2 separate regions of the Homo sapiens genome follow, and region 1 is linked to region 2. The links are contacts of gene promoters, found by promoter capture Hi-C in human tissues and cell types (Jung and others, 2019). All regions are on one chromosome and are shown on one strand. The core of a region is centred on a gene start or on the middle of the fragment in contact, and the rest is flanking DNA. Distances in the headings are between cores, read along the strand shown.

Region 1 (3,914 bases), core at 577-3,076, 46 kb after region 2:
CGCCTGCCATGTAACCCAGTCATTTGACTCCTAGGGAGCATTTACCCACGCAACGAAGACGAGTCTGAAGAGGGCAAGGGCAGGAAGGAAGAGAGAGGCGAGTGCAGGGCCTCCACGACCCGCCAGGAGAGCCCTCCACACCCACACGTTTAATTTCCCAGTTTCCCAGGAAGCTGGCCAGTGGGATCGGGGTACAGGAGGCAGGAGCCAGCGCCCCCCAACACCCCTGGGGTCCTCCGCCTGGACCGTCCAAGAGAAGGCGCCTGGTTCTGCAGCTCAGTGAAGTGCCTGCCCCCAGAGTCCCTGATTTCCTGGCAGCAGGCTGCAGCCAGCACTGCCTCTGAGCCCGGGCCACTCTGGGCGAGTGGCTGGCACACAGGCAATACACGATACCCACTATTTTCTTCTCTCCCGTCTCCATCTGAAGAAGAAGCCAACGATAGCCCCTTCCTCTCTGGTTCCATACTGGCCTCCGACAGCTTGCCCTTTGCTCCTCTGACCCCTAGAGGAGAGGGTGTGGTGGTTACAGGAAACTGGGAGGGTGTGGGGGGCTCTGGGGATGGAGAGGGTTCTGAGGCCCAAGCTGAGGGTCAGGTCTGGGGTTGGGGATCAGCTCTGGGGTTGGGATCAGGTCTGGGTTGGGGGATGAGGTCTGGAGTTGGGAGGTCAGGTCTGAGTTGGGGTCAGGTCTGGGGATGGGAGTCAGGTCTGGGGTTGGGGGTCAGGTCTGGATTAGGGGTCAGCTCTGGGGTTGGGGATCAGGTCTGGGTTGAGGGATCAGTTCTAGGTTGGGGTCAGGTCTGGGCTTGGGGGTCAGGTCTGGGTTTGGGGGTCAGGACTGGGTTTGGTGTCAGGTCTGGGTTGTGAGTCAGGTCTGGGTTGTGAGTCAGGTCTGGGTTGGGGGATCAGGTCTGGGTTGGGGTCAGGTCTGGGTTGGGCGGGAGGTCTGGGTTGGGGGTCAGGTCTGGGTTGGGGGTCAGGTCTGGGTTGGGGGATCAGGTCTGGATTGTGGGTCAGGTCTGGGTTGGGGTCAGGTCTGGGTTGGGGGGTCAGGTCTGGGTTGAGCGGGAGGTCTGGGTTGGGGGTCAGGTCTGGGTTGGGGTCAGGTCTGGGTTGAGGGTCAGGTTTGGGTTGAGCGGGAGGTCTGGGTTGGGGGTCAGGTCTGGGTTGGGGTCAGGTCTGGGTTGGGAGATCAGGTCTGGGTTTTTGGGGTCAGGTCTGGGTCGGGGTCAGGTCTGGGTTGGGGGTCAGGTCTGGGTTGTGGGCATCAGGTCTCAATTGGGGATCAGGTCTAGGTCGAGGGGGAGGTCTGGGTTGGGGGTGCAGGTCTAGGTTAATGAGGAGAGGTATGGGGTTCTGAAGGCAGAGGGGAGTGGACAGCTGTGGAGTTCCCAGAAGATGGGGGAAGGTGGGGAGAACAGCTCTGGGCTTTCGAGGGCGGGCGAGTGGGTAGAGTTGGGCAGGTTTAGTGGGGGAGTTCTGTGGTTCCGAGCTAGGCGGGTCTGGGATTCCTAGGGTAAGGGGTCTAGAATTTGGAGGCCCGGGGCGGGGAGGGGGTAGGCCTGGGTTTCCGGGTGTGGGAGGCGGGTCTGGGGTTCCGAAGGCAGATGGGGAGGAGGGGTCCTGTCCGGGATCGGAAGCGCGGACGGGCCTGGGGTTCCGCGGTCGGGGGTCGTGCTCACCGGGGACCGGGTCAGTGGCTCGCGCTGCGCCGCCCGGCTTCCTGGGGTTGCCTGGGACAACGTGCTGGGGCGGCCACGCGCATTGTGCACCCCCGGTGCGGCGGCTGCTGGGCCCGTGGCCTCGGGCTGTGCAGCGGCGGCGGCCCCGGGGCGTGGGGCTGCGCGGGCGGCGGGGGGCGCGGGGGCGCGGGGAGCTGCGGCGTGCGGGGGGCGCGGGCCCCGACGGGCAGCAGTCATCAGCGCTTGGGCTGGGCCCGGGTTGGGGTCCGGGTCCCGGGCTGCTGTCGGAGCAGGCGCGGCTGCGGGGTCGGCGGCGCGGGACGGTGCGCGCCATGGTGTCCGCCGGGGGAGGGCCCGAGTGTAGCCCCGGGTCACGCGCTGCGGCCCCGCGCCCCCCTGTGGAGGTCACACTCCATCCCCCACCAGGTCACAAAGACCCGCGGGTCACATCCTGCCCCTCCCCCTCGGGCCCCCCAGGCCCGCCAGGCCTTCTCGCCCTCCCCGGGGCCCTCATGCCGCCCTCTGTCCCTGGGCCCTTCCCCGACGCGAGGCTGGAGCGGCGGGGTGAGGAGGCCGCGGGCGCTGGGCTCCTCCCGGGCTGCGCGCTGCGGGTCCTGGCGGATGGGGGCGACGGGGTGACCGTATCAGCGCCCCCCGTCCTGCGGCGGAACTTGGGAGGGCCTTGGTATCCGCAGAACCACTCGTGGGGTCCCACGCCGCTGCCCCCCGGGGGGTTCTGAGCCCACCCAGGTCCACACGGCCCCTGTCGTTTCCCCCCGCACCCCGCGGATCACCCCGCCAGGGCAGCTCGTGTCTGATCTGGCATCTCGGAGTGGGGGTAGGAAAGACACACCTGCCCCACCAGGACCCTCACTCCTGGCAACTTTCCAAAGCCTAGATGTCTTCATTTGGTTTTAAATCAACTTTATTTTGCATTTAACTTCCCAAGACACCCCAAAAGGGAGGTTCTGCCCCGACTCTGAAGGGGCTGGTGGGGGACTTGAAGGGGGGGAGTGGGAGCGTCCCCTGGCGGGGGTGGTTCCCTTCCAGCTCCCTCCCTCTTCCCCGGGGAATGCCACTGGGCTCTCACCAGACCCCAGTACTGGCCTCTAGGGGTTACACAAATCAGTGAGTGAAAAGCTGGCCCTCCCTCCACCCGCCCCTCCTCCCTGTGTCCCGATGTTTTTAGACCTGAGTGAGCTGACGCTGCTGAGACACAATATTAAATAGCCACAGCCACGTCTGCAAGTCAGCGTTTATTGCTCAAGCGTATTAAACAAAAATGTAGACTGAAAGAGACAGTTCTTTTAAACCCCATTTTTCCGGATTTTTTAAGCGCTCTAAAATAAGAAAATAAGAAAGTGCAAGCCAGCAAAAACGCTCCAAGTGCCTAATTCTGACTCTGAAACTTGAGCTCTCTGGTCTGCCCCCAAGAAGACATCAGCCCGCCCCGGGTCGTCCCTGTGGCTCCCACCCCATTCCCAGGAGCAGACCCCGCCAGCCTCAAAGCTGCAGGGAGGTGGGGGTGGCCTGCAGACAGGGTGGGGTCTGCATCCGGTACCAGTGACAGCAGCCTCTCCTCTCCCACGGTGGCGCTTGTTTGGGGCTGTGGCCAAAGTGTTTGCCCGGCCCCTGACTGTGTCCTTCCGGAGCTGCCGAGGACTGCAGAGAGGGCCTGGCTTGTCCCCTCTAGGAGCAGCTGGGAAGGTGTCTTGCCTGCATCCCCCTTCAATGGTTGAAAATAATGATTCCACTTGTCATGAACACCATGAAGGTATCTTGGCAGCCAGAGTCACTCCTGTTCCGCAGTGGGAAACCTGGGAGGGTCCTCAAACCCCCTGGCAGGGTCTGCAGGCCGCCCCATCCAGCTGCATCTCCCAGGCCTCCTGGTTCTTTGATCTTGATGGCCCCAGGCCACAGATGCATCTCCGGGCCTTTCCAGCAGCCCATGGGGGACCAGTCAATACACCCCACGGCGGTGAAGAGAAAACGTTCATGTCTTCTCAGATCAGAAGGAAAGAAACAAAACCATTGTGAAGGAAAACACCTGCTGGAAAGTAATTATCAAAGTAACAGCATTCCAGTTTCACAGTCGCCCCAACTCACTGTGGATTTACTGCCGTCAGCTGGGAGGACCCAGGCGCCCTCGGGACGAGGAGACGCAGGGAAACCCACTCCTGGCCATGGCACTACCCAAAGCCAGTGTTATTCTCACACCCAACTGTCCCTGCA
Region 2 (3,573 bases), core at 413-2,912:
GGCTGCCCAGGCAGCGCCCCTACACCCACCTCCAGCTTCCCGCTCCTCTTGTCACCCCTTGACCCCTCCTGCTCAACCCTCCCCACCCCATCTTCCATGAGACCCTCCCTCAGCCCCGCCAAACCCCTCCTCTCCTCTCCCCTCCAGCACTTCCCCTCCTTCCTGGCCTCTTCCACCCGCCTCAGCCCCTGCCCTTGCCCCTGCCCCTTTCCTTGGAGTACTGAGGGTTCAATCTTGGTCCCCACCCATTCCCCAGGATCACCTGGCCGTCCTAGCGTGGACAGCGCGGTCACACCTCGGACCGGGAGGCTGCCTGCATACCCCGCAGCCGCCTCAGCAAAGCTTTCCAGCTTGCACTTCAAGGCCGCCTCCCCCCATGTCTCCCAACTCAGGGACCATTTCCTCCCAGAGGCAAAAGTCGATTCTGAGGTCTCATCTCTCGCTTCTCCTTCCCCCTCCTAGCCAGGATCCCCAGGCCTGCCCCCTCCCTGTTTTCCATCTCCACTGCAGGGTGGCATCCGGTGGACACCCCTCCCACCTGAACCCGCCCATCTCCCCTGCTGCCACCGGTTCCCACGCATCCCAGCCTGCTTTCTTCCTTGTTCCACGAATGCCCTGTGGATCTGAGCCTGCCCATGGCACCCAGCACTCCAGCCCTTGCTGCTCCCCTCCCTGAGCTGAGCCCTCTGCTGGACCCGTCTCAGGCCCTGTGGAGCTGCTGGATGTCCCCGCAAGTGTCCCCTGAGGTGACCAGGCCACCACCCTAAAGGCACATCTTGCTAACTGCTGTCCCCATGCCAGGAACGGTGCACCCAGCAGGTCCTCAGTGAGTCCTCCCTTTCCGGGACACCTTCTGTGCCCTTTCCATGCCTGTGTCCCCACTGTGCCCGGCCAGCCTTGGGCACCGGGGCCCCTTCCTGGGATGCTGGGTACACTTCCTGCTGCAGGTGCTGATGAAGCGCCCTCTCCTGTAAGGCTGAGTGAGTGGGCTGTGCAGTGAGAGCCCTCCACCCCAACCCAGCCACCTCCACTGCCAACATCTCATTCTCAGCACGTTCTCCGAGTGTTTCCTTGGCAGGTGTCTACACAAGCCCAGGTGTTGCGGGCTCCCGATGGCTCAGAGCAGCCGAGCGGGGTGGGGTGGGAGCCCCGGATGGGCTTGCGGGCTGCCCTAGATTCTAACACAGCCTCCTTGGAGGTCACAGGTGGGTCCGAGGTGGGCTCACCCTGCCTTGAGCTTCCAGCAAACACTTCCCGGAGCAGCTCGGCAGGGTCAGGCCAGGTCTCCCATCCTTCTTTCACCAGCGCTGCCCTCGGACCCCCCAGGGCCCTGCAACCCCTCACCTGCTGATGTGCTGAGAGCGTCAGGCCAGACCCACCTGAGGAGAAACCAGGGCCTTATCTGCCACAGTGTAGGGGCCTAGGAGGAGGCAGGAGCTTACCTGAGAACAGGAGAGGCCACATTCTGTAATCCGGGGGATGGCCAGGCTCTGGAAAGTGCCCCAGGTCAGGCCCAAGAACGCGAGTGCTTGCCCAGCCAGCATCTGGCTGTGCAGTGAGAGCTCCCACTGGTAAGCGTGGATGTGAGTGGGGCAAGTTTGCAGGATGCCCTGTGGCAGCGGCTCCAGGCTGACCCTGCAGCTCCAGCCCCAAAGACAAACAGAGGGTGGAGGCTGCTCTTCACAGCTGGAGCGAGCGAGACACTCCCCCTCCCGGCAAAACAGGGCTCGCTTCACAGACAGCAGCCCGGGAGACTTTCCACCGCCTGGGGCCAGAAGACTGTGGCCAGACACTTGTGGAGTTTCTAGGTTTCCAAAGGAAGCATCCAGAAACCTTGGGGCCTTTGGGGTCCGAGGACACCCTAATGGGGTTCCCCACAGGGCGGCCACTGGTGCAGAGATGGCTCCAGGCCGGCGGGATAGGCTGCCGCCGGCGTGCACCTCCCTCAGGCATGCATGAGGCCAGGAGGGTAGACAAGGGCCCTGGAAAGCTGGCTGGGCTGGCAGAGGGGTGGAATCTGTCCTGGGCACTCATACCCCAGAGCCCCTGGCTTCAGCCCCAGCCCCTAAGGGGAGCCCTCTCCTAAGACCTGAGATTCCACCCAAGTCCCTGGCCTCCACCTCCCCTCAAGATGCAAAAGGCCACCTCCCCTGTGTGGTCCTCCCTATGAGCCCCCCCCCACTCCGGAGGGCACCCCCCGAGGCTGGGAACTCTGGGGCCCAGCCTCTGCTCAGGGAGCCGTTCTGTGTCATCTTCTTATTTGGAGCATCAAATGCATAGGAAAGTTTCTGGGCAGAAGCTTACTGCTTCCCATTTGCCTCCAGCCAGGGCAGGGGGTTGGAGAGAACCAGGGTGCAGTTCTTGGGTCCTCCTGGCTCCTCCCTTCCTGGACAGGCACAGAGGCTTCTGCACCTGCCTCAGGTTCTGGGAGGGCACTGCCCCACGTGTGTGTGTGTGTGTGTGTGTGTGTGTGTGTGTGTGTGTGTGTGTGTGTCTGTGTGTGTGTGGGGGGGGGATGGCGGGAGTTAATAGCTGGGGAGCCTGGGAGTGTCTAGCTGGGGTGTTCTGCCTGGAATACCCACAGGACACCCCAAGTGTGGAGGGCGGCACCACCCCCAGGCTGGGAGAGGCTGTGGGCCTCACACTGTGGGCTCGGGTAGTCAGGAGGGAGCTTGAGAAACAAGCTCTGGGGTTCGGTCCCAGGGGAGGGAAGGCGGCAGGGGCTGCTGTGACCGTGAAGTCCTCCCTCCCTCCCACCACCCCGCACTGCCCACCTCCCTGCCTCCTGGGCCAGCACCTCGACCCTGCCCCCGCCTGGCCTAGAGCCCTCCATGGGCTGGAACTTATGCACTCACTGCTGGGCAGAGTAGATGGGGCTGAGCCCGCCCCCTGCAGCAGCGTGCCTGTGGCCACAATGCCCTGGAGAGAGTGGCTAGTGCCAGCCTCCATGCCACGGCATGGTCAGCAGCAGGCAGGCACATTTGGGGGTGGCTCAGGACGGGCCACTGTCATCCCCTATCCCAGGCTGGCTGAGCTGTAAGACAGATACTCCAGCTGGGCCTCGCCCCTCAGCCTGGCCTCCAGCCCTCCTTATACCAGGGGACGATGGGGGCTGCTGTACTGTGGCAGGGGTGTCCCAGACGATGTCCATGGGCACGGCCAGCAGGATCATTGGGAAAGGACAAATGTCCCTCCCCCATGGGCCCACTCACACCCAAACCTCTCTCCAGGCCTCTCTGGGACAGGCCCCCACCACGACACACCCGTTGCCTGAAGGCGCCATCCCAGCGTGCCGTGACGCAGGCAGGGGCTGCAGGTGGCCAGTAGTCGGTGATCTCGTGTAGGGACGGCCCACGGGGTGTGGCTGGTGCTGGTTCCAAGGCCCAGGGAAGGACAGTGGGGCCGGCCTCTGCCCTCTGCCCCAGGCCCCCGGCCACCCTCTCCAGCCTGAGGTCAGAGGGCTCCAGCCCTGTCTCTGAGGGCTGGGGGATTGGCCCTGCTCAGTATCCATGAAGAGCCAGGCCACGGGCTCCTGGGCGGGCCCCGGCCACCGAGATCACCCACCGCAGCTGG

What was found. Contacts are between HindIII fragments. The study calls those that stand out against the background at their distance.
Region 1: the fragment with the promoter of TTLL8 here is called in contact with the fragment with the promoter of IL17REL in region 2 in 1 of the 25 tissues and cell types used here (H1 embryonic stem cells).

What each region holds. Positions count from the first base shown.
Region 1 is chr22:50,056,472-50,060,385 of GRCh38, forward strand. It overlaps TTLL8 (tubulin tyrosine ligase like 8), which reads right to left and starts at 1,827. Exons shown (of 14, transcript NM_001350317.3): 1 at 1,683-1,827; 2 at 398-502. The coding sequence starts at 464. It overlaps MLC1 (modulator of VRAC current 1), which reads right to left. Exons shown (of 12, transcript NM_015166.4): 12 at 2,920-3,914. The HindIII fragment of the contact is 29,458 bases long and covers 1-3,914 here.
Region 2 is chr22:50,011,103-50,014,675 of GRCh38, forward strand. It overlaps IL17REL (interleukin 17 receptor E like), which reads right to left and starts at 1,663. Exons shown (of 15, transcript NM_001371417.1): 1 at 1,443-1,663. The coding sequence starts at 1,544. RefSeq lists a silencer at 1-33 and an enhancer at 1,548-2,148. The HindIII fragment of the contact is 6,785 bases long and covers 1-3,573 here.